7 separate regions of the Homo sapiens genome follow, and regions 2, 3, 4, 5, 6 and 7 are each linked to region 1. Evidence: promoter capture Hi-C in 16 types of primary human blood cells and fetal thymus (Javierre and others, 2016). All regions are on one chromosome and are shown on one strand. Each heading gives the region's core, a stretch centred on a gene start or on the middle of the fragment in contact. The rest is flanking DNA. Distances are from core to core; before and after follow the strand shown.

Region 1 (3,971 bases), core at 418-2,917:
TTGTGAAGGGCTCTATTGTACAACATGGTGACTATAGTTAATAACAGTGAATTTCAGTTAATAACCTGAATTTCACTGAGAGTAGGTCTGAAGTGTTCTCATCACAAAATGAGTGTATTAGCATCGCTCATAGCTCATTTAGCCATTACACAATGTATACACATTTCAAACCATATTGTATACCATAAATACATACAATTCTTATTGGTTAATTTTAAAAATAATAAAAGTTCTCTATCAGTCCCATAAATTACAATTTTCAGGCATCTGCAAAGGCAGCATGTTTTGGTTTAAATGTGGTCTTTCCAAATTTTATACGTATAAAATAAATGCATAAGTGTACTACATATGCAAAAACTAATACATAAATTTTATAAAGTCAATGCACGCGGGGTCACTGGGATGAACCAATTTCAGTGCCTGCAGTCTAATGTTTAAAATCAAAATGGTACAAGGTCACCACCAAAGAAATTGTTTAAGCCAATGTTTCTCAAACTAAAACCTTTGGACATACTCCCAGAATCCCCTGTAAAGAAATGTATACTGTACTCAAAGTTGAGAACCACTGACTTAGCATAAAGGGACCGTATTTCTTTTCTCTCCCACCCAGCACAGGCCCAGTGCTCAGCAGAAATTGGGGCTCCACAGTTCTGCCCAACACTGGGTCACTGCTGAGAAGTCTGCACCAGGCCTTCCTGCACCTTTCCACTGAGCAATGGAGTTTGTTTATTCATTTATTTATTTATATGGAATTTATTTATTTATTTTGGAGACAGGGTCTCACTCTGTCACCCAGGCTGGAGTGCAGTAGCGCAATCCAGGTTCACTGCAGCCCTAAACTCCTTGGGCTCAACTGATCCTCCCACCTCAGATACCCGAGTAGTTGGGACTACAAGCACGCACCACCACGCCTGGATAATTTTTTTTAAATGTTTTGTAGAGATGGGGTCTCCCGATGTTGCCCAGGCTGGTCTCGAACTCCTGGGCTCAAGAGATCCTCCCGCCTGCGCCTCCCACGGTGTGAGCCACCTTTGATCTTATTGCTATGATTTTTTTATTGATAAAAACTAATAAATATTCTGAGTCTCAAGAAAGCTTTCTGAAACTATCAAAGGGACCCAGGCGGCGCATCACTACCTGTGAGGCCGACCCCACTCACAGCACAGACTGCAAGTGAGGCTTACAGATGGGAAGTGCCCTAAGCGAGGTTAAACAGCTAGTTAGCAGCAGACACGGAACTAGAACCTAAGCCTGCTGTCCCAGCTTCGGTGCCCGTGCTCACAGCGGAAGCTGCCTCGGCTCATCCGTAAGGGCGCTGATTAGGGACGACAAAGACCTCACCCCACCGTCCCCGTCCCATTTCCGCCCTCCCAGATCCCCAACCTCCTTCGAGTCCTCTCCAAGTCGCCTCGCCTCGCTCCACTCCAGGCCTTAGCAAGCATTCCACATGCCTTTACCCCAACCCTACTGCCTGTCCCCCAAAAGATGCAGGCGGAAAAGACCCCAGGAAGCGAGCCCACTCCTCCCCACTGCTCAGCAACACCGCCTACGACGTTCTCAGTAGCCGAATCCCTTTCCAGGCGCATGCGCCCCCGAGGTGGGCGAGCGCCGGTGATGTCACGCATAGCGCCATCTCCGAGCTCCGAGAGTCTGCGACAGCAGCTGCCAGTGCGTCATCAGAGAGCGCCGGAAGCGGTCCGAGAATGAAGAGTAAGCGGGGCCGCGAAGTTGGAGAGGGTTGGGGACGTTAAGGGTCGGGGTCTTGGTACTGGTGGGTGAAATGGGTCCGGGCTACCTGTTGCTGCGGAGTCCTAACAGAACCGCTACAGGAATGGGCCCACCCTACCTAAGAAAAACTGAGGGCTGGAGCACGGGTTAGCCTGGCTCGACCTCTGAGCTAGGGAGGGATGTCAGGGCTGGAGGCAGGTTCTCCCGGAGGCTGCTCAGTGGTGTGCGATGCTAGAGGAGGGTTCCAGGCCTTGGCTCAACTTGGCCACTATCTCCCGGGGTGACCGCGGTCAAGATCCTGCTCCTTTCTGCGAGCTGGTTTCACACTCTTAACCTGATGCAAAGCGCCGAGAGCTGCTGGGGAATGATATCACTAACCCAAAGCTTTGGTCCTTAGGGGTAGAAGACATGTGCCAAGGAGGGGCGTGTAGACACCGTTAAGACTGGGCCTTCAATCAGAATTTTTATTTTTCATCTCTGCCACTTTCTACCTATATGATCAAGTAGATTGTCTCGGCATGTCTGAGCTTCAGTTTGCTCATGCACATAAGTGTAATGAGAAAAAATATGTGTACCTTGTAATGAGGTTTCTGGCAAGTAATGGATGTTCAGTAATTGTTAGATGTGTATTGTTGCAGAAAGACTTCCAAGTCTGTTACTAAGCACCTGTAACAGATGAAGCAAAGTTATCAGGCCCCGCAAGTTGCTCTCTACAGTTTATAATCCCCATCTTCCATTTGAGGGAGAACTAGATGCTATATATAAAACTTGCAACCACATTGGTTTGCTTGATCAAACAAACATACCTGGCTGGGTGTGGTGGGACACGCCTGTGGTCCCAGCACTTTGGGAGGCTGAGGCAGGGGGATCACTTGAGGCCAAGAGTTGAAGACCAACTTGGGCAACAACATAGCGAGACCCTGTCTCTACAAAAACTGGAAAAAAAAAAAAAGAATTAGCCAGGTGTGGTGGCACACACCTGTAGTCTCAGCTACTCAGGAGACTGAGGTGGGAGGATCACTTGAAACCAGGAGGTCGAAGTTGCAGTGAGCTATGATTGTGCCACTGCACTCCAGCCAGGGCAACAGAGCAAAACCCAGTATCAAAACAAACAAACAAACAACAAAAAAAAAAAACTTGTAACCACCTTGCATCAAACATTCTCAGGGAAGTACAAGAAAGCTGGAATTAAATTTACAGAGTATAGTGTAAATTACATTTTCTAGCTATTTAGCTCATAAACCAGGCCTTAGTAGTCCCATTCTTATTCCATTCACACCTGTACTCTGTCCCCAGTGCCATGGTTTTCTTCTTTCAAAAAATTAAGAAACAGAAGTGTGGAATTTATTTTAGAGGTTGAAACTTTATTGACCAATGTATATTTTGAGTTTAAAGGAAAAACTTGTATTTTATCAGTTCAGGACACCATCGATTATGTGACACATTATAATTTCATATTAAAATGTGAAGAATCTTTTTAAACATCTTACAGTTAACAAAACCTATTTCTAACCATCTACATCCTAGACAGCTATATCATATAACTTTTAATGAGTTACCTTGTTAGCAAGTGCTCAAGCTTCTAACTTGGGGTATTTTAAACCAATGCAACTCAAAATGTGATTCACTGACCTGCAGTAGTATCTGGGAATATGTTAAACACTCAGGATCTAGGGTAGGAGACCAATAATCTGCATTTTAATAAGATCCCAGAGATTTTTACACACGTTAAATTTTGAGAAGCATTCTTTTTAAACCATGTGCTTGGAACTTCTAGCATAGATGTGGCCAGAGGGTGGGATAAGAGGCATCCAAGAAAGCTTTGCTCTTAATACCAACCTCATCTTCTCCTATCTCTGAATAAGCAGTTGTTCTGCTATAAGTGTAGAAGTGTAGTTATTTTCTTTTCTTTTCTTTTCTTTTTTTTTTTTTTTTTTTTTTGAGACAGAGTCTCACTCTGTCACCCAGGCTGGAGTGCAATGGCACGATCTTGGCGCATTGCAGCCTCTGCCTCCCAGGTTCCAGCGATTCTCCTGCCTCAATCTCCCATGTAGCTGGGAATACAAGTGCAAGCCACCATCCCCGGCTAATTTTTGTATTTTTAGTAGAGACGGGGTTTCACCATGTTGGCCAGGCCGGTCTTGAACTCCTGACCTTGGGTCAGGATCCGCCCGCCTTGGCCTCCCAAAGTGCTAGGACTACAGGTATGAGCCACTGCGCCTAGTGGCGTAGTTATTTTCATA
Region 2 (3,971 bases), core at 825-3,324, 420 kb after region 1:
GTTGATGTCATGTCAAGGTCATTGTTATTGTTGTCTTCTGTATTCTTGCTGATTTTTTGTCTACTTGTGCTATCCGTTATTGAGAGTGGGATACTGAGGCCTTACACTATTATTGTTAAATAGTCCTACCTTTCAAGTTCTGTTAGTTTTTGTTTCATGCATTTTTTTCTCTGTTGTTAGGTACATATATGTTTGTCATTGTCATATCTTCTGATTAATTGAAGCTTTTATTATTACAAAATGTCCCTTTTTTCTCTAGTAACATTTTAATTTTAAAGCCTATGTCAGTTTTGTCTGATATGATTATGACCACTCCACCTTGGTTATGGTTATGCTTATGTGGTATCTCTTTTTTCATCCTTTTTAGCATTTGTATCTTGTGGGCAGCATGTGGTTGAATTTTGTTTTTAAAAAGTCTATTTTGCCAGCCTGTCTTTTTATTGAAATGTGTGTTAATTCATGTAATTGTTGATATGGCTCATTTACATATCAATAGCTCATGCCATTTTGTTAGTCATTTTTTATATGTCATGTCTTTTTTGTTCCTCTGTTCCTCCTTGGTTACCTTTTTTTGTGTATGTTAAATAAATCTTTTAGTATAAACTTTGAATTCCTTTACAAAAAGAAACTGTACTTTTTTTTTTTTTAAACCCACAAATTTATTTCTTACATTTGTGGAAACTGGGAAGTCAAGGTTAGCAGCTGATTTGGTTCCTGCCGAGGGCTCTCTTCCTGGGCTGCAGATGGCCTCCTGTGTCCTCACATAGTAGAAGAGAGCTTTACTCTTTTTTATGAGTTATTTTATAGTGGTTGCTCTAGAGTTTATAGGATGCATTGTAACATTATAACCTGCGTCAGAATAATACTAACTTAATTCTGGCAGACTTTGCTTCAGCATAGCTCTAGTCTCTTTTTCCTTTGTCCTATTATTGTAATATATTTTATAACAGTACAGGTTTATTATTTATAACTATATGGGTTCATTATTTTTCCATGCAATTATCTTTTAAGTAAGAGAAGAAAACTTAAAAAGAGTATTTTTTCTATTTTTTACATTTGCCTACATAATTACTTTTACTGGTACTTTAATTTTTTATGTGGATTCAAGTTACCATCTGGTGGTGTTTCCTTTCAGCCTGAAGTACTTGCTTTAGCATATCTTGTAAAAAAAATTTTGGTGGCAACAAATTCTCTTTGTCTATCTGGGAAGATCTTTATTTTTGTCCTCTTTTTTGAAGGATAGTTTTACTGGATTTAGAATTCTTGTTTGACAGTAGAGTATGTTATACCACTTAATTCTGGCCTTCATTGTTTCTTTTGAGAAGTCAGCTGCTAATTTTACTGGGGTTCCCCTGTGCATGATAAGTCCATTTTTCTCTTGCTGCTTTCAAGATTTTGATGTGTATCGGTGTGGATATTTTAATGTTTATTCTACTTGGATTTTATTGAGATACTTGGATATACAGATTTATACTTCTTACTAAATTTGGAATGTTTTCAGACATTAAAAACTTCTATGACTCTTCAAAAGATGTCAAAACTTGTATGGCCCTCACTATTCTTTTCTTCTGGGATTCCCATTATGCATATGTTGGTATTGATTGTAACCCACAGATTTCCTACTTGGTTCATTTTTCATTCTCACTTCTGTTCTTCAGATTGTGTAATTTGTATTGATTTATCTTTGAGTTCACTGATTCTTCCTTCTGCATTCAAGTTTGCTGTTGTCCCTCTAATGAAGCTTTCACTTTAGTTACTTTTCAACTCCAGAATTTCCATTTTTTAAAAAATGTTGATCTCTTTATTAAGTGTTCTCTGATTAGTCATTGTTTTCATGCTTTGATTAAACACGGTTTTCTTTTGTTCTTTGAAGATGTATTTTTATTGGCTGCTTTGAAGTCTGTCTGTTAAGTCCAACATTTGGGAACCCTTGGAAATAGCTTCTGTTTATACTGAGTATTTTTTTTTTTATACTAGATAAGCCATACTTTCCTGTTTAAAACTGGACATTTTAAATAATACATTGTAACAGCATTTATTTCTGATACTCTCCTGCCAGGGGTTATTGTCCCTTTTTTTGTTTGTTTTATGACTTGGCCAAGATTAATAATGAGTTTTTCTCTACAGCGTGTGGCCTCTGATGTCTCTCCTCAGTTATGTTTGACTACTTATGGGTCACCTTGGATCAATATATCTTAGTGATCAGCTGGTGACTGGTCAGAGATTGTACTTAGGCATCTTGTTTTGGTAAGACTTTCATCCTTTGTCAAAGTCTCTGTTTTGTTTGAGGAACACACTGAAAATTTATGCAGTTTACGAGTCTTCCCTGGGGGTATGTATATAGTTAGAGCCTTCTCTGGTCTCTCAGCATGTTCATACCCTAATATGCCCATTACCTTTCAAAATGTAAGCTTATCAAGGACTATGATTGTCTCACTTCCTGATTGTTTCTGTTAAATCTCCAGGCAGAAAATTTTTTTCTTCTGATCTCTTTTTTGGCCCAGCTATAGTATTTCAGCTTCAGGTCATCTATGATGTATGTGGACCTCTCCTATGTTTGGCACTGAAATTGCTATATTTAACAAAGCCCCTGGGCGTTGGGTTTTTCCACGTTGTTTCAGATTGAGTCAGCTCCCTACAGTATAAATGCTTCTGGTTTTACAAGCTGTCCCACCCTGTTAGAACTATTGTCTGAAGGAGCTGGGGTGAGGGAGAGTGGTCACAATGCCACATACTGTCATCATTTTTACCCAACTTTCAGTAGTTTTCTTGAATAAACACTTCTCCATTTGTCCTATGTTTTGGTCAATACTCAGAGGTGAAAAGTAGTTGTTTTTGATAATTTTGTCTAATTTTTTTAAAAGTCTGTTTTTTAAGAGCAATTTTAGATTCACAGCAGTACTGAGCAGAAGGTACAGAGATTTTCCATATATCCCATGCTCCCACACCTGCATAGCCTCCCCTATCATCAACATCCCCACCAGAGTGATACATTTGTTACAATAGTTGAATATCCATTGCCACAGTAGTTGAATATCCATTGCCACATCATCACCCGAAGTTGATAGTTTGTATTAGAATTCACTCTTGGTGGACATTCAGTTGCTTTGGATAAATATATAAGAACACATATCCACCATTATAGTTGCTGAGTAGTCTCACTGCCCTAAAAATCCTCTGTGCTGTGCCTATTCATCCGTCCCTATGCCCCAATACCTGGTAATCACTGATTTTTAAAATTGTCTCCATAGTTTTGCTTTCTCTGGGATGTCATGTAGTCGGAATCACATAATGTTTAGCTTTTTAAGATTGGCTTCGTTCTCCTTTGAGTTTCCATAATGTCTTTTCATGGTTTGATAGATCTGAAAATAATATTCCATTGTCGGGATGTACCGCAGTTCATCCATTCACCTACTGAAGGACATCTTGGTTGCTTTCAAGTTTTGGCAAGTACAAGTAAAACTGCTATAAACATCAGTGTGTGGCTTTTTGTGTGGACATACGTTTTCAGCTTCTTTGGGTAAATACCAAGTGGTATGATTGACAGATCATATGGTAAGACTATGTTTTGTAAGAAACTGCCAAACCGTCTTCCAATCTAGCTGTACTATTTTGCATTCCCACCAGCAATGAATGAAAGTTCCTGTTGCTCCACATTCTAGCCAATATTTGGTGGTGTCACTGTTCTGGATTTTGGCTATTCTAATAGGTGTGTAGTGGTAACTCATTGTCATTTTAATTAGCATTTACCTGATAAAACATGATATGGATCATCTTTTCAGATGCTTATTTGCCATCTGTGTGTCTTCTGGTGAGGTGTCTGTTAAGGACTTTGGCCCCTTTTTTAGTCAGGTTGTTTTCTTATTGTGTTCAATTTAATACTTATTTGTGTATTTCAGATAACAATCCTTTGTCAGAAATGCCTTTTGCAAATATTTTCTCCCAGTCTGTGGTTTGTCTTTATATTCTCT
Region 3 (3,971 bases), core at 785-3,284, 410 kb before region 1:
GAAGTTCTGCCCATCTGATGGATGTAAAGTGACACCTCATTGCCATTGTGTTGACTTTGACAATGACAAGATCTCATACCTACTCATCTATTAGGCACTCAGATTCACTTTTTTCTAATGAGGGTATTTCACCTACATTTTTTCCTACAGTTTTGTCCTTTTCTTGTCAATTTATAAGATCTCTCTATGTATGTTATAGATACCAACTCTTCATTGGGCTTAGAATTTTTATTTTACAAATCTATTTTCATCTGATTTGACTAGTATCTTTTGAAATTCAAGATTTTAAAAAATACAAATAGGCCTATCTTTTCTGCTATAGGTTCTGTTTGTTTTGTTTTTTGTTTGTTTGGTTTTTTTGAGATGGAGTCTCACTCTGTCACCCAGGCTGGAGGGCAGTGGCGCCATCTCGGCTCACTACAACCTCCACCTCCTGGGTTCAAGCAATTCTCTGCCTCAGCCTCCCGAGTAGCTGGGATTACAGGCATCCTCTGCCACGCCCAGCTAATTTTTTTTTTATTTTATTTTTAGTAGAGATGAGGTTTCACCATGTTGGCCAGACTGGTCTTGAACTCCTGACTTCAGGTGATCCACTGGCCTCAGCCTCCCAAAGTGCTGGGATTACAGGTGTGAGCCACCATGCCTGGCCTCTGCTATAGGTTTTAAGTGTCCTTTCATGATTAAGAAGGTCCTCTCCCCATTTAAACTACATGTACAGTTCCTAAAATTTTTCCTTAAAAATTTTTTTTACATGCATCTTTAATCCCACTAGAGTTTATTTTTAAGCATGATAGGAGCTGGGGTCCATCTCTGTTTTCTTCCAAATGAATAGTAGGCGTTGCCAGCACTGTTTATTAAATAAACCAATCTTCTCCCACTGAATTGAATCCTGTCTTTCTTGTATTAAATTCTTGTAGCTTGAAATCTCATTCTTGATAGTCTATTTTGTCCACTGACCCATCTGTCCTCATGCCAATGTCATATTAACTACAATAATTACACTGTAGTTTCTCAAATCTTTATTCTTCTGTTTCATACTTTCCTTGGATATTTTTGGATATTTATTTTATATAAGCTTTATGATCATTTTATCCTAAACAAATTGGATCAAAACAAAATGCTGTATAGAGTCTAATTGGAAGTTTATTATTAATAAATGTATGTTAATTTGAGGAAAAGACTTTTTTTTTTAAGTGAAAGCAAAGCAAGCTTATTAGAACAACAGAATACAGAAAAATGTCTGCTCCATAGACAGGGCAGGGTACCCCACAGGCAGAGTACCTGGAAAATTTTTTTTTTTTTTGAGACAGAGTCTCGCTCTGTTGCCCAGGCTGGAGTGCAGTGGCATGATCTTGGCCCATTGCAACCTCTGTCTCCTGGGTTCAAGCAATTCTCCTGCCTTAGCCTCCTGTGTAGCTGAGATTACAGCCACCCACCACCAAGCCCAGCTAATTTTTGTATTTTTAGTAGAGACAGGGTTTCACCATGTTGCCCAGGCTGGTCTCGAACCTCTGACCTCAAGTGATCTGCCCTCCTCACCTGAGGTCAGGAGTTCAAGACCAGCCTGACCAACATGGTGAAACCCCATCTCTACAAAGAATACAAAAAATTAGCCAGGCGTGGTGGTGGGTGCCTGTAATCCGAACTACTAGGGAGGCTAAGGCAGGAGAATCGCTTGAACCTGGGAGACAGAGATTGTGGTGAGCCGAGATCATGCCACTGCACTCCAGCCTGGGCGACAGAGTAAGACTGCCTCTAAATAAATAAATAAATAAATAAATAAATAAATAAATAAATAAATAAAATATACTCCTCTATTTTAATTATTTCCTATTTATATTAGGGATAGCTTTTCCACATCTATTGTTGTCTTTATTTTTCCTTCTTTGTTCATTTAATAGACAGTGTTGATACCACCTTGCATTCCTAGAATAAATCTCAAAGTTTATTATTCTTTTGCAGCATTATTAGACTTCTTTTACTAGTATTTTATTTAGAAAATTTCATTAATTCAGTAAATGATACTGATTTTTTTGATATTTAATGTCAGGTTTTAATATTAAATTTACATTAAACTCACAAAATGAATTGTTGGAGCATTCTATAGAATGCTATGGATTGAATATTTGTCGCCTCCAAAATTTATGTTGAAAGTTAATCCCCAGTGTGGCAGTATTGACAGCTGGGGCCTTAAAGAGGTGATTAGGTCCATTCACAAAGTAATGAATTAATGGGTTATCACAGAAGTAGATTAAGTGGTTTTATAAGAGGATAGACGCCAGGGCTAGCATGCTCAGCCCCCTCATCAGGTGACCAGGTGATGCCCTGTACCACCTTGGGACTCTGCTGAGAGTCCCCAGCAGCAAGAAGGCCCTCACCAAATGCAGCCCCTTCACCCTTGAACTTCTTAGCCTGCCATGGACATCACCTGGGAAAGTGTTAGAACACAGAATCTCAGGCCCTATTCCAGACCTACAGAATCGGAATATGCATCATTAACAAGATCTCCAGGTAAATTGCACGCACAGTAAAATTGGAAAAGCTCTGACCTGAACGAGCTGGTAGTTTAAATTGGAATTATCTTTTCTTTAATGTGTCATATAGAACTCAGCTATGAAGTCATTCAGTCATGGTAACTTTTTATACTTAATCTATGCTAATTGGTATGTTTAAGTTTTCTACTTCTTGGGCTAATTTTGGCATTTTATATTTTCGCTAAGAAGTCATCTGTATCCCCTGGTTTTTACAACTTTGTTACTATGGAGTTGCATGTTTTTATTATTTTAATTTCTTCCATCAAGTGAGGATGGCTGGCTCTTCATTTTATATATTTTTGCTTTGCCTCATTTTTCTCGTTATCAAGCTTTACAAAAAGCCTTATATATTTTCTTGATCATTTCAAAGAACCAGCTTTTACAGCCAATTAGTAGTAATTCTTCAAAGCTAACAGGAGGGGGACACTACAATGTGAACCACTGTCATGGATGAATTCAGCTTTGCTTTCCATTAACATCAAAACTATGTACACATGCAAATCTGAACTTCCAGGGGCCAAAGTATTATGAGAATGCAGGATTAATACCAACCTTTGATTCAGAATCGCATTCTGAGTAGGGTCTACCTCCACCTAAGTGGCCTTTCTGTATACCTAATCACATTCTAAATGCCATTTACTGCCTCGTTAAATAATGCTTTGAGCATTTGTATCTTGTTTTACAGTTGATATACCTTTTCTACCCACTATTTCATTTGAAATTTATATTTAAAATGGTATAATAGATAATCCGTTACTAAGAGGAACACTGCCTCTAACCTGATTTTCATGTACTGAGATCAACTGGGGCCCCAGGAATGCCTTGTCTCTCCAAAGGGCTGAAAGGGACCACAGCAGAGTGTGTCTTGAGGAGAGAGCTAAGAAAGCAAGTATTCCCTCAGATAAAGCAAGAGGCACGAGTTAAAATTTTAGCCATGCCCCAATGCAGGAAATGGCAGATTTCAGATACTCAATCTAGACAGGCCTATTTTGTGAAATGCATTAGCTCTCCTCTCCCTTCCATTAAGAAACCAAGGTTTTGTTTGCCCTTTTAAAAATGTATGAAAACCTATTACTTAGATACTTTGATTTCTTACCTTTGCAAATATTCTAATAAAATAAGGATTTCAAAAGCCAGATGACGGTTAAGTTTTTGCACTCAAATTGATCCAAGTTTGGGATAATAGCTGCAAAAATATAAAGTGTAGTTTATTGAATTTAGGATTTTCACTTCACTGATAGACCAGTCTTAGGTTGATCATTATGGAAGAGTTATTACAGAGATATTGCTGAAGCCCTCCACAAAGTTAACTTTAATCTTGTGCCACAGACCAGAGATTTCCGATCTATAATAATCTATTTCATAAGCACTCACAGAAGCAAGCAATTGAATAGTCTTCCTTTTGTGGTGTATTTAGGTCTTCTTTAAGTATCTGGA
Region 4 (3,971 bases), core at 1,098-3,597, 410 kb after region 1:
TTAGTTAGCTGGTATTGGTCCATTGTTCTCTGAAACAATGCATTGTTTGGGGTCTGGAAGGGGATCAGATTTGAGTGGCAACTACTGTAACTTCACCTGTCCTTCATTCAGAGAGTTTTCTTAAGAATCCTGGAGTTAATTATATTGTGGACATTTTGGTGTGCTTAGGATGTTGAAAGTGACTGCATTAGTTAAATTTTTAATTATGCCAGGTTGTTTTCTATGGACATAAAATGAATACTTCATAGGCACAAAGGGAAAATGTAGGAGGAAGTAAAAATTAGTTTCTTTTCTGACAAAGTAAATATAAACATCTGTGGATAATCATGACTTAGAATTTTGGCATTTTAGAGCTGGGGGTGACTGGAGATTTTCTAATACAGAGTTTTAAAGCTTTTCTCTAGTATGAAAAGCCTTTTGTTCCCTCCATACTTACTGTAGAATCCCAGTATTTAAAATAGATCAAAGCAGCTTGGCTCTGATTGAAGGAAGGATAGGCTGCCTTAAGTCCATCTTTGCCCTCTCTCTGCTCCATGTACTGCTCTAAGGGGACACTGGGAATTCGTCTAATTCGTCTTTCTCAGGGAAATTTAAGGCCTAGAAGACATAGATCTGGTTGGTAACAAAACAGGAACTCTTTCGCCTCTGAGTGCCCTTTCTACACAATATCCCGATTGCCTGTATCAGTTAAGGGTCTGTGGTATCATTCTTAAGTGTGTGTGATTATTATTTAGTGAAATATGTTTAAAACATATTTGATATTTCTTAGCTTCCTAAAGTTATTCCTGCTCCTATATGAAGTGAAATAATTGTTTGTGTTTTTATATTCTAATATGTCAGACTGAAGGGGTCTTCCCCTGATTCTTCGGGAAAAGTTGACTGAGATGATTAGCCAGAAAAAAAGGTCGCTTTTTAATCTTTTGCCAGGCTTTTACTTTTTTCCTGTTTTCATTTAGATAAAACAGAAAGAACAAATATTATTTGCAGGAACGTTACAGGTAATAGTGGTCATTATTGTGGAAAGTATGCTCTAAGTGCTGACTAGGGATAGAAAAATAACATGTTAACCCCATGTGAACCCTGAACAGGCTTGGTTTTTATTTTTTTACTCCTTCAATTTCTAAAAATTAGAGATGTTTTAAAAATTCTAAATAGGCATTATTTAATAGTACTTTTATGACTTAAAGGTTGTATTCTTACTGAATTTTTGTTTATACTCTTTCTTTTGAAATACATAATTCAAGCCAAACACTTATATCAAAGGAATGGGGTGATGGGAAGTTTATAAGAAATCTAGCATTTAGTTCAAATGTATTTTGCTTTCTCTACAATAATAAAGACACTGAAGACTAGGATTTGTTAATAAAGAAGATTTTCTTTAGATGTCATAGATCTATGAGATAAGGACTTTTTAAAAAATTCCATCTGATAATGCACATCATTTCAGCATCAGAAAATTTCAGCTGCCTCTCTTACTATTATTTTTTTAGTTATAGAGTTTATTTGTTTTGGTTTCACTTTGATTTAATTTGTCAAAAGATTCTTAATTTCTTGCTCTGAAATTTTAGGTCCGAATAAATACTGGAAAGAATACCACTTTAAAATTCAGTGAAAAGAAAGAAGAAGCCAAACGTAAACGAAAGAACAGCACTGGCAGTGGCCACTCTGCCCAGGAGCTGCCGACCATCAGGACGCCTGCAGACATTTACAGGTGGGAGGCGCTCACAGCTGCAGGGCAGTCTGCTGGGCTTGCCTCTCTTTCTGCCACTGAACCTTTACTGGAGAAAGTTGACTGTAACACAGAAGACCCTCACTGAAAAGTGAAGTGTTCTGAGGAGTTAACTTAGGATCTGATAGGCTGACCGGCTGTAGCTTCCCAGTCCAGAGCAGTGGGAATGGAGGATTTTTTTTTTTTTTCACTTTCTCCTCTTCACCAGTGCTTTTGAAACATTTCCAAATGGTCTAGTCAGAAAATCTTGTATCTTCAGAAAGCATTTTTGTTTCCAGTGGGCTAGGTCCCTACGTTTCTACCACAGCCGTAACATGCTTGGCATGCAGTTTACCTTTTCAGAGTAGAAATTATACTGTTGCAGGTTTTTTTTTTTTTTCCTTTTTTTTGGAATTGTTTGTTGAGAAAACTATCACTTGAAAATACCTACTGTTTTTATGACCCTTATTTATAAATCAGTGAAAATTGCTAAATGTATACGTGGGTCTAAAACTTTATGTAGAATTTTGGCAAACCATGCTATTGCCACCTAGGACATGCTTAAAAATAACATGCTGTGTTTTTGTTCTCACTCATAGGTGGGAATTGAACAATGAGAACACTTGGACACAGGGTGGGGAACACCACACACCGGGGTCTGTCATGGGGTGGGGGGAGGGGGGAAGGATAGCATTAGGAGATACACCTAATGTAAATGATGAGTTAATGGGTGCAGCACACCAACATGGCACATGTATACATATGTAACAAACCTGCACGTTGTGCACATGTACCCTAGAACTTAAAGTATAATAAAATAAATAAATAACATGCTGTGTTTTATTATTAGGCCAGAGAAATAGCTTTCAAAATAGTATGAAGATACCATTTGAGGCTATAAAATTATTGTGATTGTGACTATTTTAGATATAAGATTGTAATAAAAATTTTCAGATTAATTTCTAGAATAGATTCAAGGAAATTTTCAAAAAGTTGTTCTCAGTTTTATGAGTTACGTATAGTGAATGCATATGTGTTTTGAATATCACAGAGCCTTTGTTGATGTTGTGAATGGAGAATATGTCCCTCGCAAATCCATCCTGAAGTCTCGAAGTAGAGAGAATAGTGTGTGTAGCGACACTAGTGAAAGCAGTGCTGCTGAATTTGATGATAGGCGGGGAGTTTTGAGGAGTATCAGCTGCGAAGAAGCCACTTGCAGTGACACCAGTGAGAGCATTTTGGAAGAGGAACCACAAGAAAATCAAAAGAAACTTTTGCCCTTATCAGTAACACCTGAGGTGTGTGTGTGTATCTTTTAATTCTTTATTTCATATAGTATCTTTGACCAGTTTTAGCTATTTAATCTGAAAAGTCATAAGATTAAATTAATTCTAGGTTTTATACTTTCTTGGTACTAATTAATAAAAAATTAATAGTCACAAACAGTACAAATATTGTGATAATCAAATAGTTTATTTTTTGATAAACACATTACTTGTCTTAACGTTCTATTTCAGCAAAATGGGAAATTTAAAATGTCTTACTTGGCATTATGTATTACATTTGTAGCTAGGAAATTATTTCGCAGTTTATTTTAAATAAATTACCAGTAGGTCATTTTCTGATAGTGTAAGGAGCAGATTACATTATTCTCTTTTAAATACCTTGGCTAAGTTAAAGAAAAATAATGCATGCATAGCAGATAATTACCTAAAGTCTAATATTTTACCTTGTACCAGTGAAACTTAACTCTTGGGGGATTATGGAATTGTTTTATAATCTGATGAAAGCTGTAGACCCTGTCCATAGAAAAAATAGTGCACACTCAATACACTTTCACCCACCACACTTCTTACAGTTTTTGGTGGTGGTGCAGGGGAGGTTAGGAAATCCCCAAATAAGGATGTCTGTGAAATATAAGGCTATTGATTTCTTCATTCTTGTGTTTTGGTGCGTATTTGAAGTTTTCAATTTAAAAAGTATTTAGGAAGATTGGGGAACCCATGCCTGGATCAAACCAGTGTACACATTTGTATATACAATAAGATACATGCATATATATAACCTTATCTAAAAATTCCATTGCTTTTACTAAATGGTATTATACTCAGTGTATTAAATGGTAATTGGGGATGGAGATTGGTAGCATTTAGGGACAGTACATATGACTAGAATGTTTTCTTCCCCTCTTCTTAGTATAATGATCTTAGGTGACCTGGAAAGTATCTTACCTTATTTGATAGTCTTCCATACTGTTAGAAAA
Region 5 (3,971 bases), core at 482-2,981, 390 kb before region 1:
GCATGTGATCCACTCCGTGTTCCAAATTGCCATCCTTTCTGCGTGCTGTTAGGGACTTCCCCCAGCTCTCCCTGCAGAGTGAGGAGTACTCTGAGACAGACGGGTCTAGGATGAACTGTGTTGATGGAGAAATGAACATTTTTTGGAGGGAAGGAAGATTTCGGGGTGTGGGGCATAAGTTGAAGGAGTATGGCTCTGAAAGTCCTTGGGCAGTTTGTAGAGGACAGAGAAGGTGGTAATGTCAGTTTCTGCCCCTCTCCCACCTCCACCTCTGGCCTTCTCAGTGGTCCTATGGCTCCCTACCTTCAGTCATCTTGTTCTCAAGCCTGAAGTGCTGGATCCACTCAGCTGCAACCCAGCTCAACACCTCTGTGGAAGCTTTGCCCATCAATCAGGAGAAGCTGAGATCCAGAGACTGATGCCCACGTTCTGTCTTTGCAGAGGGAAGCCCACCAGAGCCCTCTTCTCTCTGGGGAGGAGCTGGCTCCCTGAATCTCCAAGACAAACCCAGACAGCCCTGGGGACCTTGAATGTGAGCAAGGGGAGCAGAAAGGAGGCTCCAGCCCACCCAGGGCCCCTGCAGGGTCTGCACACACAATTACAGGTCCTCATTTCCCTCTCCTAATGATGCCCCAAAACATTAAGGGAAGTTAAATCAAACCACCAGGTGTCCAGCATGAACAGCTGAAATAATAAATTCACGAGGTAAGTAAGACATTTTATTTGTACTATTTCAAAATTGGTAGATGCAGGAAAGCAAATTGTGATGTGCTTGGGATTTAATTTGTATTTCAAGGTACTAATGAAGGTAGCACCCATTTTCCCAAAGGCCTTTTCATCCCTGAATCTTGAGAGCACTTTTCTAAGCATATTGGGAATAAATTAAGTTGCAAAACCTCCATGAAAAAGATTACGGTTAAAACATAATTTTGAGGAACCACTTGAGTTTATCCATTTACCTGCTTTTAAGTACACACACCTATTTTTTTTGCAATTATTTTTCACAAAAGAAGGAACTTTGTGTGACGTATACAAGCAGGTAATGGCAAACCTCCAGCATCTTTAAAATAAAACTCAAATTGGGCTGGGCAGGATATTACATGCCTGTAATCCCAGAACTTTGGGAGGCCAAGGCTGGTGGATCACCTGAGGGAGCTCGAGACTAGCCTGAGCAACATGGTGAAACCTTGTCTCTACTAAAAACAAAAAAAATTAGCCAGACATGGTGGCGGGTGCCTGTAATCCCAGCTACTTGGGAGGCTGAGGCAGGAGAATCACTTGAACCCAGGAGGTGGAGGTAACAGTGAGCCAAGATCATGCCATTGCACTTCAGCCTGGGCAACAAGAGCCAAACTCTGTCTCAAAAAAATAAAATAAAATAAAAATAAAACTCAGGCTGAACTAAACCAGCCTTCTGAGTCAATGTGCAGATATTCCATAATGAAGTATGCTGATTAATAAATTATTTGATTACCAGGTAAGTATACCTGCAATCAATATAACTGCCGAAAAGCTCTGAATTAGAAATGGTGCAATAAAATTTAACTGAAAGGTATTAGGAATTGGTAGTTTTAATTACAGGGAATGATTAATTGATCATTTAGACAGTATTGATCTACAACTTATTTAATTCTTTGCAATTTAATTTGTCAGATTTGAATCCAAATAACTGATGATTTGTTCCATGAATGCCAGAGCTGGAAGGGATGGGGTTGGCAGAAGAGACAAGACTGGACCATGGACCTGGTGGTTCTGTGCAGAGGCCAAAGCTACTCTCCTTCCCACCTGGCCCTGTGCTGGGCCTAACCTGGAGCCCCCTCTATCCTCTGCCTCATTCTTCTCCGGGTCAAGGTCCAGCATGAACTCCATGTCCTCCAGGAAGCCCTGGTGGACTTGGGCAGACCTGGGGACACGTCCAGCCTCCTGGCAAGATGGGGGTAACAGGAGTGTGTATAAAGGGGAAGGCAAGAATGTGCCCTTGGTGGAGCAGTGAAAAGAAGCCCTCATGTGACAAGTGTTTTGCTCCTAACCCACCTCCTCTGGTGACATCTTCTGGGTTAACTGCTCTTGCTGATCTCTGCACATAAACCAAGCTAACTGTGAGAGGCCTTTCATTTCTAGTTTAAAGCAAGGAGACCACAGTTCCTTCTGAACACTCACCCCCAAGGAGATAAGGAGGGCGTCCCATGAGCAACACTGTGTGTTAAAGATGTACACGAGCACTGGGACCTGACCAAGGACAAACACGTCTCCAGCCCCCTCAGACCCTTGCTGCTGCTCAGATGTCCGCTGTCATCGGTCACATCCTAACCTCAACCCCCTCTCTCCTCCCACATAAAAGGAGGCTGAAATTCATAGTAACTTCAGATGGTTCTTTAGGACACTGGCCCACCACCTTCTCGGTTGCTGGCTCTCCAAAACAAAGCCCCCTCCCTTGACCCAATTCCTTGTTTCTTGACGTACTGGCTGTTGTGCAGTGCATGGTACCGGCTTGAACTCGGTTATGTTGGCATGGCCTCTGGCGGTGCTCAGTTTGTGTGGATGAGTATTTTACAGCTACTGTCCTATTTCCAGTCCCCTTCCTCTGGACGGCTATGGGATGTGCTGTGGATGCCCTCTCTTAGGCTGGAATAAACCACCCTACCTTCTCCTCTGCCTTGTCTCCACCAAATAAACTCCTTAAGGCAGGGATAGAGTCTTGCACTCCACGAAGAAGTATTGCTGCATCCTCAGCTGTGTAAGAGTGACCGGGCTTCTTCTATTCCACCTGTAATGGAACTTTAGGCACGCAGAGAGAGATGGCAAATTTGTGCTGGCTGAAGGGGTCAGCAAATGCATATAAGGCTTCTTGTGCTCCAGAGAGAGAATGGAGTGCAGTCAGTGAGACCCTGAGGGGAGAAGGAACCAAAAGCCTGGGCAGAAGGGATCGTGGAGGTGCCCAGGGTCAGGAGGGATGGGAAGGGTGAGGAACACAAGAGATCACCTGGAGGCATTAGAGGAGAAGGCAGGCACTGGGGATGGTGCCGCTGATCCAGGTGGAGCAACATCCTAGGACCCGAGTGCTGGGCAGGTGCATCCGTGGAGGGAAGCTTCTCTCCTCTCTCGGCTCCTGCTGAGAGAGGCAATCATTCCCCTGGCTTGCCCTGCAAGAGACAGGAGCTCTAGGTAGATCTCTGCTATCTAGGGAATAGAATGTGAATATTTGAAAGTTCTAGAGGTCAAGTCTTAGGTTCCCTCTCAGCTCAGATCCCAAATGGTACACTCTACCCTAACCCCCTTTTCTTGTAGCTTTGCTACATGGAGAGGAAAATACCTTGCCAGACACCAACAGTCCCTTCTCAGCACTTTTGTGTGAAGACAACTCAGACCCTAAGAGAATGGGGTCTAATTTGCAGGTGCCACTGGAAGGCAGAGGTCACGGGAGCCCTGGACTTCAGACAAGGTAGAGGGATCCTGGAGACAGCACATCTGGCCCTGGAGCCCTGCCCACCCGGGGAGTGAGGGCAGCTCTCCTGCTCTCCTAGGAGGCCTGCCCGAGGACCCCCATGTCCTCTATGTGTGGGATTCTGCAGTTTGCACTCACAACCCAGAGCCTTTTACCCAACTACCCTGTTTGTAGGAATGTGTCCAAAATAAGCATCAGACAAGTACATGAAGATGAATGTGCAAAGACGTTCATAACAGGATTGTTTATAATCATGAAAAATGATCTGCAGATTTCCTGTCTGCTGTGCAGGATGAGTTAGACGGGGATGCATCCATAAAATCACTTTGCCCTCATTTAAAATTATATCATAGATCTATGTTTAATGACATAGTAAACGGTACTCAATGCATTAAGTGAAAAAAGCATATACATATCAGGATGTATATGATCAAGTTTTTGTTAAATGGATGCATGTATGCATGTCAGTAACTGTCTGTGTTTGCAAACAAAACGTCTAGCAAGACGTGCATCAAATATTAACAAT
Region 6 (3,971 bases), core at 454-2,953, 370 kb after region 1:
GCAAATACTCAACATTTTTTTATTTTTCAAAGGAAACTGGACAAAAATAATTGTTCAGAGGAAAAGAGTAACTAGCTTCCATTAGAATTTATAGTTAAAGTATATAGTAGGAAATAACCAAGAAAGCATACCTGTATAGCTAAAAATCTCAGGTGAAGATTTGATTTTCTCTCTCTCTTTTTTTTTTTTCCTGTTGGAGCTACTCTTTCCTATCAGTCGGGATGGAGATACCTGCTTTATGCACACATTGTATATCTGTCTATATGTCTCATGTTTTTGAGGCATTCCTTGTGCACAGAAGCACTGAACTATATCATTGTAACAATGCCATGGTTTACAGTATATTTCATATGAATACCTGAAACTGTTTTCTTGAGTTGCCTTCACATGCTATATAAAATTTATTTTATTATGTATAATATGTGAAATATTGATCTGCATACCTTTAAAACTTGTAAAAGCCAATGACTTTTTTCTACAGTGTTAGGTAGATTTGTAAACTGTGTTTTTCAGAGTCTGTATTTTACTGACTACAAAGTTTTCAGTCACTGTTTTGTAGAGGGCCTTCTGTTTGGGCTTTTTCTTTATGTTATTTTTTCTTTTTTTTTTTTTTTTTCCCTCCTCTTGAGCAGAGAGCAACTGCCAAACTTTCTGGAAATTTTGCATGTTTTTGTTGTTGGAGTTTCTGTAGTTGTTTATGAAAGTCTTAGGGATAAGGGGGAAGAATCATATATGTCAAATCTTGTCATTAAGTTTCTGCACAGTTTTAAAAAATGGTGTGAGTTAGTACATGCGCTAGTGATTAAGTGAGTTTGGAACTCGTGTGTAATGTTTCAAAGCAAATTAAGAGGCAAAAAAAAAGATTCAAGTTGAATGTTTAAAGAATTTTTTTTAAATCTGAGTTAGGTTTTTAAATGTTTATTCTGAATATAAAATGAATGCATGCTTAGTTATGGAAAAGTTGAAATAAGAAAGGAATAAAGATAAATTTACTCATAATTGTAAAGAGAAGCTAATTCTCTCCCTGTTTTTAAAACATTCCCTTTTATTCCCTCTAGCTTCTTAATTCTGTATGTGTATTTATGTGACTAAGGTCAAACTGTAAATGCATTTTTCTTTTCCTTCTCTTTTTAAAGAGTTAAATGATTTTTAACTTGTAATTAGAATTTATTACTTGTAGGAGTCCTCAAGCTTTTATATCATGTTTTTGGAAGCAACCAGCTAGTTTAACGCACTTCTGAAAATGAAAGGAAAACTTACATGTTATAGGAGAGTTTTTTTCCCCTGAAGAGTTTTAAACTATTATTAAAAAAAATCCCTAATCACATTTCATCACCTAGAATAGTCCTTGATGACGACGTGTTTCCAGTGTCAATATGGTTTGGTTCAGTTTCCCATGACCAGCTCAAGTCCAGTATCTGACTGAGGCAAAGGGCTTAGGGCTTACTGCTTTGGGCACACCTCATGATTTTTTATCTTTGTCTCAACTGTATTAGGTTTGAAAACTGTACTTCTTTGTACTTTTTTTTCATTTTCCATTTTTTTTTATGAAGAGTAACATCCAATAAAACTCTTAAGCACAGAGTCCTGTTTGAGGATGAAGATGTGAATATTGCAACAACCACAGTGCTTGTCTGAGAAGTGCATCACTTGGTGATAATCCTGAGTGCTTGTTCTTATTTTGAGAAATATAAGTCCAGATTCCACTATACCAAAGACAGATTGGGGTGGGTATCAGTGTAAGACCTGAGAGAAATGTAGGCTGTGAAAAATGGAGGCATGCCTATAATTTACTTTTTACTAATTCATATTGAACTCATGATCAAATTGGTGAGGGTTTTCACATTTTTCTTTTATTTTTAAGTCAGTTGATAATTTTGAGGTTTTTAAATATTTGGTAGGTTCAAAACCAGGATTGCCATTTTTCACTGTTGTAAAACCTCTTGAGAAACTTTAACCCGGAGGTATCTATGATTGGGCCTCTGCTGAAACTATATGTAAAATATGAGTTCTTTTCTCAGGGAAGAGCCTAGAGTTTTTCTAGTTTCTCATAGGGATCAGTGACCTAAAAGGGTTTTTTAATTGCTACTGTAATTAAGAAAACCCACAAAATTACTTTTTTCTAAAATATGCTTTAGAAAGAAAATATAGAAAGTGTAAAGTAGCAAAACCTATGAATTACGGTAAGATTTAAGTAGAAATTTGCACAAACTTTCAAAGCTTAAGTCAGCTATAAACTCATCACACCTTTTCTAAAAGGTCCTTTCCTTTGATTTGTAATAGGAATTTATATTAGTTATAGAAAATTTGGAAAATAAAAAGAACAAAAATTACATATAAACTCATCAGTAAAAATTAACTAGGCACTTTAGGATATTTCTTTCAAACGTAGATGAATGTGTTTTTACATAATTTTAAAGGTTTTTTGCTTTGAATTCACATCTCATTTTCTTAGAGCAAAAGATTAGTAATGAGTGAAGAAACAGGCACCTGTGATAACTGACAAGTCTTCAAACACATGTGTATGGTTGTTGTAGAGAGAACAGTAGAACAGATTTTTCTGTCCAGGCTTACTATATATATATATCCATTGCACTGTTTTCTCATTGTTGAAAAGTTAAATTGAAGAAATCTAGTAGAATGTTAGCTGCATCTCTCTTTAGATAATTTTGTTTCATTGACTTGAAAAATTATGTTTTTATATGCGGGTTAATCTTGGTATCTATGTCTAATAGTAAAGTTTTCTGATGGACTCATAAAATATAAAGAACATAGATTATTTCATCAGCATCTTCTGATGACATAAATTCCTTGGTATAATAGAGTTATAAAAAAGGAATATACCACCATTCTGCCTGAATTTTGTGGTACATTTCAGTTACTTATATCAATTGAAATTACTGAATATTTTGCCATGACCATTTAGAAAAAAAGTGTAATGCTATTGATTTAATTCAAGTACATTTAAATTTTCCATGAGGAGTGTTCCTTTTCCCACCAAATTGCATAAAGCATAACAGTATAGATCCCTTTTTCAAGAATTTTTAAATAAAATGTAACTTTTATCAATTTGTTTAGATTGTTTAAAAGGATACTTTGAAAAAAATCATTATTTCTTGCTTTAGTAACTGGAGGACATCTCTTTATCTATATAGAATCCATGCCCAAACTTAATATTCCTCTATTTTCTTGATTTTAGAGGTGAAAAGCCAGGCATCCTTCAAGCTAGTGGATCTTTGACAAAGATGCATTGCAAAACAATCAACAAACAATCAGAAAGGCATGCTATGTGTGAGTGATGATCCCTGCAGCATATGCCATAGGCTTGTTGTAGAGGAGCTGCTCAGTAAATGGTGGATTCAATTGAAACAAGTCTTTTTTGGATGCTTAATGGGAAGTTGTAGGGTGGGTATGATGGACTAAAAATTATTTCTAAAGAAGGTTATATATTGTATATATTCCAGAATCTTCCGTTTTTATCGTTTCTTAAATTAAAAAATAAAAATTTAACTCTGTCCCAGGTTAACTCAGATGTTAACACTTATATAGAAATTTTTTTCCTCTTTCCCCGTTAGGCATCTCACAGTATTTTCTGCTTGTCTGTTTAGGATGTTAGGTAGAGGAAAAGAGAGTGATAGAAGATTTTTTTTCTTAAAAAAAAAAAAAAAAAAAAAAAAAAACTGGGCCAGGCATGGTGGCTCACACCTGTAATCCCAGCACTCTGGGAGGCCGAAGCGGGTAGATCACAAGGTCAGGGTTCGAGACCAGCCTGACCAACATGGTGAAACCCCGTCTCTACTAAAAATACAAAAATTAGCCGGGTGCGGTGGCGCGTGCCTATAATCTCAGCTACTCAGGAGGCTGAGGCAGGAGAATCGCTTGAACCTGGGAGGTGGAGGTTGCAGTGAGCCGAGATCACGCCACGGCACTCCAGGCTGGGTGAAAGAGTGAGACTCCATCTCCAAAAAAAA
Region 7 (3,971 bases), core at 888-3,387, 360 kb after region 1:
AAGGAATTGTCCTTTCTAAGTTTTCAAGCTTGTTGTCCCTCCGAGTTATCATAATATCCTGTTATCTTTTTATTATCAGTAGATTTGGTGGTGATGTCCTCTTTTTAATTACTGTAATTTTTAATTTGTGGGTTTTTTCCTCCCTTGATTTCTCTTCTTAAGGGTTTATCAATTTTATATTTTATATTTTTGCCTTTGATTTTTTTCCTCTTTTCTAAGTCTGCTTTCTACTTTACTGATTTCTTCTCTCTTTTTTCCTGTTTAAGATTTTCCTTTGCCTGTAATTTTTCTAGCCCTTAGAGATGATGGTTGAGGTTACTAATATTAACCTTTCCTTATTATAAGATATGCATTTTGAGCTTTAAATTTTTCTCTTAATCATTGCCTTAGGTACTGCACACATTTTGTATGTCATTTTCCTTATCAGTCATTTAAAAATAGTTTCTAATTTCTATTGTGATTTGCTCATTGACCCATAAATTGGAAATACATTCCTTTTCAAACATTATTTTCTACTTATTTTTCTGTTTCTCTAGTGTGGTCAGAGTACACATTCTGCATAATTGAAATTTAAGTCTTGCCTTTTGACCTAATGTTTTCTTTTTCTTGGTAAATTTTTCATAATTTACTTGGAAAAAAATGTTAATCCTGCAGTTTTTGGGTTCAGTATGTGTCTGTTAGTTCAGGCTGCTTGAATATGTTGTTCCAGTATTTTATGTCCTTGTTAATTTTTTTGTCTGCTAATTCTATCATTTATTGAGATATGTATTAAAATAGTCACTAGGATTATAGATTTATTTTTCTCTCTTTTTTTAACCTTTGCTTTATATATTTTACAGCTATGTTATTCATTGTATACAAATTTAAAATTGTAAAAACTTCCTGGTCAGTTGACCTTTTCACCATTCTGAGATATTTTTATCTCTAGTAATGCTACTTGCCTTCAAGTCTCCTTTGTTGGATATTAGTATTAGTATGGTCACACCAGCTAAATTTGTTTGTTTTGTCTATCTTTAAAAAAAATCTTCTTAACTTCAGTCTTTTGGGTTCGAAGTGTGTCTTATAAACAGCATATTGTTGTGGTTTTAATATTCAGTCTAGATATCTTTTCCTTTTATTTAGAGTATTTTAAGCCATTATATGTAGTAGGATTCCTGATATATTTAATTTTATCACCTTTCTATTAGACGTACATTGTATTTATTTTTTATTCAAAAAATTGTAGTAAATATAACAAAATTTACCATTTTAATAATTTTATTTTAAGAGACTGTGTCTTGCTTTGTCACCCAGGCTGGAGTGCAGTGGTATGGTCATAGCTCACTGCAACCTTGAACTCCTGAGCTCAAGTGATCCTGCCTGAGTCTCCTGAGTAGCTGGGACTACAGGTGCATGCCATTGGGCCTAGCTAATTAAAAAAAAAAATTTTTTTTTTTGTATAGACAGGGACTCACTATGTTGCCCAGGGTGGTCTCGAACTCCTGGCCTCAAGCGGTCGTCCTGCCTTGGCCTCTCAAAGTGCTGGGAAATAGGCATGAGCTACCATGACCAGCCCATTTTAATCATTTTTAAGTATACAGTTCAGTGGCATTGGGTATATTCACGTTGTTGATCAACCGTAATTACCATCCATCTCCAGGCCTTTTTTTTTTTTTTTTTTTAAATCTTGCAAAACTGAAACTCTGTTCATTAAACAATAACTCTCTATTCTTCCCCTTCCTGATCTGGCTGCCAGCATTCTATTATACTTTTTGTCTCTATGAATTTGATTACTCTAAGTACCTTTAAGTGGAATCATAGAGTATTTGTCCTTTTGTGATTGGGTTATTTCACTTACCATAATGTCTCAAGGTTCGTCCACGTTGTGGCACATATCAGAATTTCTTCCTTTTTAAGGCTGAATAATATTCCATTGTATTATAGAATGTATTATGCAGTGTATTATACGTTTTTGTTTATTTTAGCATCCATGGATACTTGGGTTGCCTCTACCTTATGGTGATTTTGAGTAATGCTGCTGTGAACATGGGTGTTTGGTTTAAGTATCTGCTTTTGATTCTTTTTTTTTTGTTTTTTTTTTTTTTTGTTGTTTGTTTTGAGATGGAGTTTCACTCTTGTTGCCCAGGCTGGAGTGCAATGGCACAATCTCGGCTCACTGCAACCTCTATCTCCTGGGTTCAAGTGATTCTCCTGCCTCAGCCTCCCAAGTAGCTGAGATTACAGGCATGCACCACCACCCCTGGCTAATTTTTTGTGTTTAGTAGAGTTGGGGTTTCACCATGTTGGTCAGGCTGGTCTCGAACTCCTGACCTCGGGTGATCCACCCACCTCGGCCTCCCAAAGTGCTGGGATTACAGGCGTGTGCCACTGCGCCCGGCTGCTTTCGATTCTTCTGGGTATGCTCAGAGGTGGAATTTCTGGATCATATGGTAATTCTGTGTTTAATTTTTAAGGAACTGCCACACTGCTTTCTCCGGTGACTGTACCATTTTACATTCCCGGACAAATTCACAAGGGTTCCAGTCCACATACTGGGCAACTTTTGGCATTTGCATTGGCTGTTTTTGTTTTCTGTAAGGACCATCCTCATTACTGGAGTGTCAAATGGTTCCCCATTATAGTTCTAATTGATGTACTTTTATGTTCTTTTTTCTCTGCTTTTTTTTTTTCCTTCCTTTGGATCAAACATTTTGTATTGTTATTTCCTCCTATTAACTTGTTTGTGATACATTATTTTTTACTACTTTTATACTGTACTTATGGTTTAGTACTAAATATAATATGTATTTATAGTATCTTTTTTTTTTTTTTTTTTTACAATTCCTTTTCACTAAGTAAGTCTCTGGTGTCTCTAGAGATCATAGCATTCATTCATTTATCCAGCCCACCTCTTGCATGATTGCTCCCATGCATTTTAATTCTACGTATTTTAAACACCACAACACTGTATTTAATTGTTCTGTGTGGTCAATATTGATTTATCTTTACCCATCTTTTTTTTTTTTTATCCTGTACCTTTACTCTTCAATTCTTTCTGCATTTATATTACTCTGAAGAGTCCTTTTTGTTGTTGTTGCTGTCTTTTTTTTAACCGATCACACTTATTTAATAACAATATCTAGTTTAATAATTTTTTTGATAAGACATTTTATTAACAACATGTCTAGTTTAATAAACCGTATTTCTTTTAATGAAAGTCTGCTGGTGCAGAATTCTGTTTCTGTTGAAAATGTTATTTTTTCCTTCATGTTGGAGGATCTATTTGCTGTGTATGTCACTATAGATTTTCAGTTATTTTTTCCAGCATTTCAAGATACTCTGTTATCTTTCACTTTCTGTCATTGATGTTGAAGTTAGCTCTAGCTCTAAGTCTTGTCACTCCTTTGAAGGCTGTGAATCTCCCCTGTGCCTCCTCCGCCTACCCCCAGCTGCACATAAAGTTTTCCCTTTTTCTTTGGTTTTCATCACTGTTAACTATGTTGTGCCTTGAAATTTTCTTTGTGCTTCTCTTGCTTGGGATTCTTGGAGTTTCTTCAGTCTATCGGCTGATACTTTGATATCAGTTTTAGAAAATCCAGAATTCAAGATCTTTTCAATATTGCTTCTGCTGCATTCTCTCTTCCCTTTCTGGATCTTGCACTTACACTGTGTTTCACATGTCTCTTATTGGTCTTTTCTGTATTTTCCATGTTTTATTTTTGAATCTCTGGGCTTTAATTTGGTGTTTTCTTTTGACCTGTCAAGTTCAAAAATCCTGATTTCTGCTGTTTAATCTTCTTTTAATGCCATTTATTTTAATTTTTGGTTCTTCAGTTGTACAATTTTCATTGGTTTCTTCCTGTAGATTTCAGTTCTCTAGTGAAAATTGCTATTTTTAAAATATATTCCTTTTATCTTTTCCTCTATTTCCTTGAACATATTAATCATTATGTTTGTTAACACCAGTATCTAGATTGCATGTGTGTTTGGTT

The links. The method cuts DNA at HindIII sites, captures the fragments that hold promoters and counts their contacts. A CHiCAGO score of 5 or more calls a contact.
Region 2: a fragment that was not itself captured here is called in contact with the fragment with the promoter of POP4 in region 1 in 6 of 17 cell types (naive CD4 T cells, naive CD8 T cells, total B cells and 3 more); the score reaches 8.8 in naive CD4 T cells.
Region 3: a contact is called between a fragment that was not itself captured here and the fragment with the promoter of POP4 in region 1, in 1 of 17 cell types (total CD4 T cells). The highest score is 5.6, in total CD4 T cells.
Region 4: a contact is called between a fragment that was not itself captured here and the fragment with the promoter of POP4 in region 1, in 7 of 17 cell types (naive CD4 T cells, naive CD8 T cells, non-activated CD4 T cells and 4 more). The highest score is 10.1, in naive CD4 T cells.
Region 5: a fragment that was not itself captured here is called in contact with the fragment with the promoter of POP4 in region 1 in 1 of 17 cell types (total B cells); the score reaches 5.4 in total B cells.
Region 6: a contact is called between a fragment that was not itself captured here and the fragment with the promoter of POP4 in region 1, in 6 of 17 cell types (naive CD4 T cells, non-activated CD4 T cells, total B cells and 3 more). The highest score is 8.9, in naive CD4 T cells.
Region 7: a fragment that was not itself captured here is called in contact with the fragment with the promoter of POP4 in region 1 in 7 of 17 cell types (naive CD8 T cells, naive CD4 T cells, activated CD4 T cells and 4 more); the score reaches 9.3 in naive CD8 T cells.

The regions. Positions count from the first base shown.
Region 1 is chr19:29,604,616-29,608,586 of GRCh38, forward strand. It overlaps POP4 (POP4 ribonuclease P/MRP subunit), which reads left to right and starts at 1,668. Exons shown (of 7, transcript NM_006627.3): 1 at 1,668-1,710. The coding sequence starts at 1,704. RefSeq lists an enhancer at 1,321-1,810. The HindIII fragment of the contact is 1,017 bases long and covers 1,094-2,110 here.
Region 2 is chr19:30,027,785-30,031,755 of GRCh38, forward strand. No RefSeq gene overlaps it. Among named protein-coding and RNA genes, the nearest start is that of URI1, 88 kb to the left of the region's middle. RefSeq lists enhancers at 2,519-2,568, 2,634-3,133. The HindIII fragment of the contact is 670 bases long and covers 1,740-2,409 here.
Region 3 is chr19:29,199,089-29,203,059 of GRCh38, forward strand. No RefSeq gene overlaps it. Among named protein-coding and RNA genes, the nearest start is that of UQCRFS1, 12 kb to the right of the region's middle. The HindIII fragment of the contact is 1,654 bases long and covers 1,208-2,861 here.
Region 4 is chr19:30,009,526-30,013,496 of GRCh38, forward strand. It overlaps URI1 (URI1 prefoldin like chaperone), which reads left to right. Exons shown (of 11, transcript NM_003796.3): 9 at 1,569-1,711; 10 at 2,760-3,006. Among named protein-coding and RNA genes, the nearest start is that of URI1, 69 kb to the left of the region's middle. The HindIII fragment of the contact is 3,913 bases long and covers 392-3,971 here.
Region 5 is chr19:29,219,012-29,222,982 of GRCh38, forward strand. No RefSeq gene overlaps it. Among named protein-coding and RNA genes, the nearest start is that of UQCRFS1-DT, 7.7 kb to the left of the region's middle. The HindIII fragment of the contact is 2,711 bases long and covers 377-3,087 here.
Region 6 is chr19:29,976,960-29,980,930 of GRCh38, forward strand. All of the region lies in intron 2 of URI1 (URI1 prefoldin like chaperone), which reads left to right. Among named protein-coding and RNA genes, the nearest start is that of URI1, 37 kb to the left of the region's middle. The HindIII fragment of the contact is 1,029 bases long and covers 1,190-2,218 here.
Region 7 is chr19:29,959,606-29,963,576 of GRCh38, forward strand. All of the region lies in intron 1 of URI1 (URI1 prefoldin like chaperone), which reads left to right. Among named protein-coding and RNA genes, the nearest start is that of URI1, 19 kb to the left of the region's middle. The HindIII fragment of the contact is 4,223 bases long and covers 27-3,971 here.